Linked DNA regions of Homo sapiens: all the other regions are linked to region 3. Evidence: promoter capture Hi-C in human tissues and cell types (Jung and others, 2019). All regions are on one chromosome and are shown on one strand. Each heading gives the region's core, a stretch centred on a gene start or on the middle of the fragment in contact. The rest is flanking DNA. Distances are from core to core; before and after follow the strand shown. Region 1 has its middle 280 kb from the start of MIR588. Region 2 has its middle 160 kb from the start of MIR588. Region 3 holds the start of RSPO3 (R-spondin 3).

Region 1 (2,700 bases), core at 99-2,598, 350 kb before region 3:
TCAAAAATTTGACCTTAATAATTAATTATTAATATAAACCAATCTAACTATGAAGAAGGTAGGTGTTACTGATTTGTAGATACATTTGAAGCTTATTGACCTGATCAAATTAGTTAAATAAAATTATATTTATATTTCCTGTTATCTTCTGATTGGGGGTTAATAACATATATCACCCTTTAGTATAAGAAAATAATAAACTTTTTTGAGGTTTCTAAGCAAATTGATTTTTTAAATGTACCTGGCTTTAAAAATATAAGCTCTCTGTTAAGAGATTCTGTTACATGCTAACATAATATAAGACTACATATTTAATTAGTTTGCATATCCTAAAAGACAGCTGCCCGTTTATGAAATTAGAACATATCTTGAATAATTTAAAAAGAGTTTGACAAATTTGAAAGTGTGCCCCTATTTAAATTGTGAGAGAGAGTTGACCTGTGTGTGTAAGATTCACTTCAGGGATCCTACTGGACTCACAGGAAGGACACATTGCTGACCTCACTAAGTGGTTTAGATAGGGGTTTCCTAATTGATAATGATGGGTTTGAATGAACAAATTAGTCTTGGATTGAAGGGGACTCACTGCTGAACATGTTAGGGGAGGAGGCAAAGTGATGAAATGCTTCGGCTCTGGAATGAGAAGGACTGAACTCCAAATTTGGTCACAAGGCCTTAGGTGAGTTAATTAATTCTCTTTTTCCTGTGAGTCCATGTGGACATTAAAACAGATAATGCATATGAAGCACTTACCATAGTGTCTGGAACAGAGTTAGCACTCAGAGAGAGTAATGGTTTTATTTTTGCCGTACTGTGAGTTTGCTAATATTATAGTTTGGTTCCTAAATACCCCAAAGATATTTCATACTTTTTTTGTTCCTACTCTCTAAAAACTACTTTTGAAGAAAATCTAAGAATTGCCTTTCTTTCTTCTTTCTTTTCTTCACTTCTTCTCTCTCCCTCCCTCCCTTCCCTTCGTCTCGCCTTTCCTTTGCTCCTTCCTTCCTCCCTCCCTCCCTCCCTTCCTTCCTTCCTCCTTCCCTTCCTCCCCTCCTTCCTTCTGCATATCTATATAGTCAACAGATTTTTGAATATTTATTCTATGAAAATCCAAAAACTTCTGCAAGTAGGACATGTAAAAATATAATATTGCAATTTAACTGTCTGTAAACAGAACATTTTATATGGTCTGAATTATAGCATGATGGGAAAAATACTCCACAATGATAGAGATAAATGCCCAATATTAGTATCATTTTTCTTCTGTAAATATAGAGGAGAATTTGAATCCCTAAGGGTATTTTTTTCATTGAGTAAAATTGATCATAGTATAAAAATATATGATAGATTGAAATTACATCTTCTTCCAGGTTTTCTAGTGACCTATAGGACCGTTACTTTCTTGACTATCCTAAAATATATAGCAGCATCTTTCCTGAATGCATTTGCTTCTCCTGATGTATAACATATTCATATGCTGGTATTTATTAAAATAAGCTTGCTGTCATTTATGGAGGGAATGTATGCCAGTTCCCTACCAAGGAGTCCTTCTCCACTCTCCTGATTCAATTTGTACACAATTGTTTTCATTTCCATTGATTCAAAAAGGATGTGGAAGTGAAAATAGTAAAAATAGATGTGTTCAAGTATTTATAACCTATACATTGAATTAGTGACTTGAAACTTCAAATATCAATGTACAGAAATTGAGAATTGACTACGGAGGAGACAGCCCAACCACAATCTGGATTATTTTCCAAATGCTTTAGGTCTGGCAAAAACTAAAGTGTTTATTGCCAAGCCCTTTTCCTCTTAATTTTAAAAAGTCATGTGTGTTTCAAGGGAAATTTAATCCACATGTTTCTGATTCATTTGCACTCAAGTTGTCAAACTGTTTTGTAATCACAAGTCTTTATCTTTTTCTCTCCACAGAAAGTTGAGTTTTCCAAGTGTGCATAAACAATAACCTCTCAGAAGAATAAATTGAATTTCAAATTCAGAAATCAGGGATGGGCAAAAATGTGTATATTTCACCTGTTCTTTGAAAAGAAAAATATTTTGGGGCTTTTGCCCCTGACTTAAACCTTTTGGTGTAGACATCACTTGCCCTTGGCAATATGCAATTCTTCTCTCCAAGGAACAGTATATTTAGAGTTCAAAATATACAGCAGAAGGTGCTAAATGACCCATGAAGCAGGAGGATTCTGTCTTTAAAATTACAAGCAAATATGACCACAGATAATATTAGAGTTTTATAGCAAAAACTTATTTTAAATATTATAATCGTCAAAATTGGGTTTACTTACAACTCCTCATCCCTTAGATATGAGCTTAACAAAGCAAAAGTGCTAGGTTTTTTGGCCCCGAATATTTTATCTAAAATGAGTTTAAATTACAAATAGAAGAATTTACAGGGGGGAAAAACACATTTTTTTAAAGCTTTTGTCATCTCTGAAAATAACTCAGAATTTACCACATTTACATATTTTTCTTATAAAACATTCTGTAGTGAGAGTTCAAATACTAAAGCTTACTATAATAGAATGCCCCATTTGGGAACATTAAGAACTTTTGTTTTATGATAACTCTACAATAGTTACTCCCATTTGGATCTCTTAGAAAGTGCTAATTCCAAACACTTCCTTCTTTATCATGAGATCAAACCATTTGGACCGCTTATTATCATGTACCCCGTAAAAC
Region 2 (2,700 bases), core at 129-2,628, 470 kb before region 3:
AAAGAAACTGAGGCTTAGGGAACTGAAATACTTTTTCTAAACTTATTGTTTGCATATTTAAATATTCTACATATTTTTTACTAATGTTTTCTCCGATTTATGTACAACTTCCTAAGAGAAGTGTGTTAAAATTTTCCACTGTCATAGTAAATTTTTGAATTTCTTCTTCTCATGATTTTGGCAAATTAAATTTTATTTTGTGACAATTTTGAAAGTTTATGGGAACTCTATCATTAATTCTATTGTTTGCTTTCGTAAATATGCAAAAATTCTTTTTATCTCATGATTATTTTTACCTTAAAACCTTTTGTATTTGATATTAATGGAGTTATATCAGTTAGCGTTTGCCTTGTTTTGATCATTTTACTTTTAGCCTTTCTTTTACTATGTTAGTTATGTTAAAAGACATTTAGCCGGATAGTTTTAAATTTTTATATTAATCTGAGGATCTCCTTTAATTGCTGACTTTAATCCATTTATATTTATTGTGATTACTGATAAAGTTTGTTTTATTTTTATTGTCATGGTGGTAGTTCTGTTTATTAGTGATATTGCTCTAAATTTTTTTCTTCCAGTTTCTTCCATCATTGAATTTTTAAAAAATCAAACGTAAAACAAGGACAAACACTTAAAATAAGATGACTATTTTCTGGAAATATTTCTAAAGATATTTGGCCAAGAATATATAAAAGGAAGGCTGCTGTGGAAACTTTTTGCTCTTCTGGTACAATGTCATAGCTTTTCCTTTCTCTTTCTTCCTACTGGAATGCAGACGTTCTGGCTATAGCTGTAACAGCTATCTTGTAACCAAAAGAATAGCAGAGACATTGATAGCCATGGGACAGAACTTAACAGCTTTCTCTTGTCTTCCTATTATATGAGGAAAATAATCTATTTTAAGTCACTGTACTTGGGTTATAAATGGAGTCAAATACAAAATATATATATATTTTTCTCTCTTAATTTCTAGTAGATGGTTATCCCACCCACCTTTCTTCTTTTGATTTTGAAATCGTACATTCATTTTTGATCCTTCAGTTGTTATTCTTCAATTTTTAGAAAACAATTGTCTTTACAATGGGCTAAAACTACTTGATATATCTCTACCCTTCTAAATAAATAATATAAAAGAATGCTTTTGTCTCAGTCACCCTCATCATTCTTTCCTATCTCCCAAATATAAAGCCTGATATTTTAGATTCAATTTATTTATACTGTTCAAATTAGTGACTGTTACTGTTATATTTATAATCAAAACATGTTTAGATTTCCCAATATTTTTACAAGTTTATTTTTGTAATCTTCTTTCTTATTTTACTGTCTTCTTACTGAAATTTAATAAATGTTCCTTCAGTTAGGTCTGCAAAACTTGATCTATTTTGATCTTTGCTTGTTAATATATTTATTTAAGCTTCACATTTGAATAAGATTATGTAGAATTCTAACTTAAGATATATATTCCCTCAGCTCTTTGAAGATGTTACTGCATCGTCTTCTGACTTCTGTTGTAGTTCTAAGAAATCTGCTCTCATCTAATTGTTCTTTTGTGTGTCTTTTTTCTGATTGCTTTTATTATATCTTCCTTGTCTTTGATTTTCTTTCTTCTGTTTCTTATCCTGACAGTGGCAGCAGCAGCACTCCACCCACCTCAGCAGCTCAGGTTTTTTGGTTTCAATAATGGAAACTGCTGCTGCCCAGCAACCTCAGCAGTCAGTCTCTAGCAGTACCAGTAGCAGGCAACACTTGTAGCGTGGATGTGGCGGCAACAACAATGGGAATGTGGGCTCCCAGATTTTTTAGTGTCCTCAGGAGTAGGAGCTGTTGGCTTCTTACAATATGGTTGTACTAATGGTTCCAACAGCACAACAACAACAGCAACACTTAGGTAAGACCTAAGTGTTATCTTTTGCTCCTTTAGCTCTTCTAACACATTGTAAATAATTCTCTATATTATACTCTTCTAATTGAAACACCTAGGGTATTTCTGTTTCCCACCTGGATGTTGATTAATACAATATAAGTGAGAATATGGCAGATTATATTAATGTTAAATATTATACAACCTTATCCCAATGATATTAATATTGGCCATCCAATTTGTTTTAACTAGTGAAATGGGAGCAGAAGTAACATGTGTCATGTTCAAGCACAAGCTTTAAGAGATATTACATGGTTTTCACTCTATTCTCATTTACCTCTGCGACAAGACCAGCAATGTCCCAGAGAAGAGCTGCCCAATAGTTTGGATTCTGGAGTGCAGACATGAGCCTGAGGCACAGCCGAAATATAATGGGCATGTAACATGAACAAGAAATATACCTTCGTTGTTGTAAACTACTAATATTTTTGAATAATTTGCTATTGCTGTATAATTTAGGATGACATATAATTTGGGTTTACTTTTACTTATTATGTTTGAGAATAATTGGACTCAATCTGAGAAATTATTTTTCGATTCTGAAAATTCTGCCATTAGCTTTGTGAATATTGCCTCCTGCAACTCACAAGCCTCATTTTCTTGTTCTCAAATTAGAAATATATTGACTTTCTTATTATATTCTTTTTAAATTGTAACTTCTCATATTTTCACATGGATAACTCTTTGTGTTACATTCTAAATAATTTTCTCCATCTGTCTTCCAGTTTATCTGTGTCTAATATCCTAATAGACTGTCCATTATTTAATGACTATATTTTTAT
Region 3 (2,700 bases), core at 171-2,670:
GTTCATCGGCTGGTGCTACCGGAGAAAAGACGTGGAAAGCTCACCATTTACTAACGACAGCCAGGGTGTGCCCCACTCAGGGGTGCCGGCCCTCTGTTCTCCCATCCCTGGGTGGGCCAGAGCATCTTACTCTCTGCTGCCTTGGGCCTCCACTTGGGCTGGGAAGATAAGAAAGTAGTGGACCTTCCCCTTCCTTCCCCAAGACTGGGAAAATCTTTCCAAATCTTATTCCCAGTCTTCCAGATGCGAGATTAGAATGTACAACAGATCCTCTCAAGAACACTGGGAGACCGAGGGTGGGAGAGAAAACTCCAAGGGGGGCGAGCTGACTATAGAGGGAATTGCCTGAGCGGGAAAGGAATCTTCCAAAGCCACAGAAAAGCCTTGGTTTGGAAGAAAGCCGTAGCACAGCTGCATTTCCAACGGGAAGGTCCTGAGCGCACACACTTCTGGGTCCTCCCCGCTCGGAGCAGGTAAACCTCAGAGTAGCTGACCGGCAGCACCCACAGAGTTTCCTCCCCACCACCCGCCTGGCGACCAACTGCAGCCGAAAAGAAAGAAAGAAAGGAAAGAAAGAAAGAAAGAAGAAGGAAGGAAGGAAGGAAGGAAGGAAGGAAGGAAGGAAGGAAAGAAAGAAAGAAAGACAAAGAAAGAGGAAGGAAGAAAGAAAGAAAAGAAAGAAAGAGAAAGAAAGAAAGAAAGAAAGAAAGAAAGAAAGAAAGAAAGAAAGAAAGAAAGAAAGAAAGAAAGAAAGAAAGAGAGAGAAAAAGAAAAAGGGAGAAAGGCAACAGAGGAGAAGGTCAGGAAAGCCGGGAACAAGTCAGCAGCCAGAAACTCTCCAGCGATCTGCCAAGGGGGAGAGGGTAGTTGCGCGCCGGCGCTGGGGATGGGGTGGGGGCGCTGGGGCACAAGGGCGCAGGGGCGCACGGCCACCGACAGCCGGGTGCGCCTAGCTTGAGGCCGCGGAGAGGAGCCGAACTGGGATGGGTGGGGGGTCTTCGGCCTCAACACTGCCTGCCAGCCCCAGTGCGCCCAAGTCTCCCCGCCAGAGCTGCCCTTCTGGAGGGGCTCTTCGCACGCACTGCTTTCCCCATTCTTCTGGCTGGAATTCTCCGGCCGTCACTGCAGTGTCCAGAGATGCTGCGCTGTAGACCCGGGACCCCTTAGGCGCCTCTTCCCGTCCCTCTGCCAAAGCGCAACGCCTGTACTTTTCCAGCTCCCTCTTTCCCTCTTGAAATTGAAAGTTATTGAGGTCGCTCAGGGTTGTTGCTCCAGCAGTTTCCTTCCCCGCCCCCGAGCTCCCCCCCGCCCCCCACAGCCATCCCCCCTCCTCTCCCCCTCCCTGCCCTCCTCTCCCTCCCCCCTCCCTGCCCTCCTCCTCCTCCTCCCCTATGTGGTGCTCCCGGGAGCCCAGCCCAACACTGGAGCGTCTCCTGCTCGCGCACGCCAGAAGCAGCTCGGGGTCTCTCCGCCGCCCCTTGGCCATGGCCGCTGTGCCGACGGCGCCCGCTCCCCTGCGCTCCAGGGGCCCCCGCCGCTGCAGCCGCAGCCGCCGCAGCTTCTGAGCCCAAGGGGCCGCCGCTGCAGCCGCCGCCGCCGCCGCTCGCCCGCCCGGATCCCGCCTGCGGCAGTTGCCGCACAACATGCTACCTGCGGCCGCCCCGGCGGCTCCTGGAACCCCGGTTCGCGGCGATGCCAGCCACCCCAGCGAAGCCGCCGCAGTTCAGTGCTTGGATAATTTGAAAGTACAATAGTTGGTTTCCCTGTCCACCCGCCCCACTTCGCTTGCCATCACAGCACGCCTATCGGATGTGAGAGGAGAAGTCCCGCTGCTCGGGCACTGTCTATATACGCCTAACACCTACATATATTTTAAAAACATTAAATATAATTAACAATCAAAAGAAAGAGGAGAAAGGAAGGGAAGCATTACTGGGTTACTATGCACTTGCGACTGATTTCTTGGCTTTTTATCATTTTGAACTTTATGGAATACATCGGCAGCCAAAACGCCTCCCGGGGAAGGCGCCAGCGAAGAAGTAAGTGCAGGGTTTTTTACGCGTTTGCTCCCTCCCGCCGCGTTCACCTGTCGGGTCGCTTTGCCTGTCCGGAGCCGGCTCCCAACTGCAGCGGTCCTCCCGCCCTGCGCCTCGCAGAGGAGATGCAGGTTCGGGCTTTGGGGGTATGGACGGCGTCTTTCACCCTTGCCTCTCGGCGCCCCTGCCTTCCGCAGCATCCTAGCCGGTGCGAGGGGCGGGCGGACGCGGCGCTAAGGTGGCTCCCGCCCCATGGTAACTTCAGGTTCGCGGGAAAGTTCGGTCCTGGGTTAGACTCGCACCCGGGATTTGTGCTTTCCTTTTGAGGATCGGACAGGGGCACCCAGCCGAAGGCACTTGGGACTCCCAGACGCAGGATGCCTCTGACCGCTGAGTAAATGACAAGGGAGGCGCGGCCGCGGTACCCGCTCACCTAGCGCAACCGCCTCGCGCGGGGAGACCTCGGCTGGGCCCTTAGGCTGGACTCCGGTAGCCGAACGCCCGCTACCCGGCCAGGAAGCCAGGGAGCGAGCGCCTGCGCGGCCGCATCCCCGACACGCACCAGCGGAGCCAAAGGGCGCGCGAGGCGATGGGGTTCGCGTGTCTGCGCGTTTGCAGAGCTGCCGGACGTCCCCCGCCCGAGGGTTGAAGACAGCAAAACCCC

What was found. Contacts are between HindIII fragments. The study calls those that stand out against the background at their distance.
Region 1: a fragment that was not itself captured here is called in contact with the fragment with the promoter of RSPO3 in region 3 in 3 of the 25 tissues and cell types used here (H1 embryonic stem cells, heart left ventricle and mesendoderm cells).
Region 2: a contact is called between a fragment that was not itself captured here and the fragment with the promoter of RSPO3 in region 3, in 1 of the 25 tissues and cell types used here (H1 embryonic stem cells).

Annotation. Positions count from the first base shown.
Region 1 is chr6:126,766,088-126,768,787 of GRCh38, forward strand. No RefSeq gene overlaps it. Among named protein-coding and RNA genes, the nearest start is that of MIR588, 280 kb to the left of the region's middle. The HindIII fragment of the contact is 3,072 bases long and covers 1-2,700 here.
Region 2 is chr6:126,644,442-126,647,141 of GRCh38, forward strand. No RefSeq gene overlaps it. Among named protein-coding and RNA genes, the nearest start is that of MIR588, 160 kb to the left of the region's middle. The HindIII fragment of the contact is 4,575 bases long and covers 1-2,700 here.
Region 3 is chr6:127,117,251-127,119,950 of GRCh38, forward strand. It overlaps RSPO3 (R-spondin 3), which reads left to right and starts at 1,421. Exons shown (of 5, transcript NM_032784.5): 1 at 1,421-2,039. The coding sequence starts at 1,943. LOC105377989 (a long non-coding RNA gene) reads right to left here. Exons shown (of 14, transcript XR_002956387.2): 4 at 1,651-2,700. The HindIII fragment of the contact is 6,946 bases long and covers 1-2,700 here.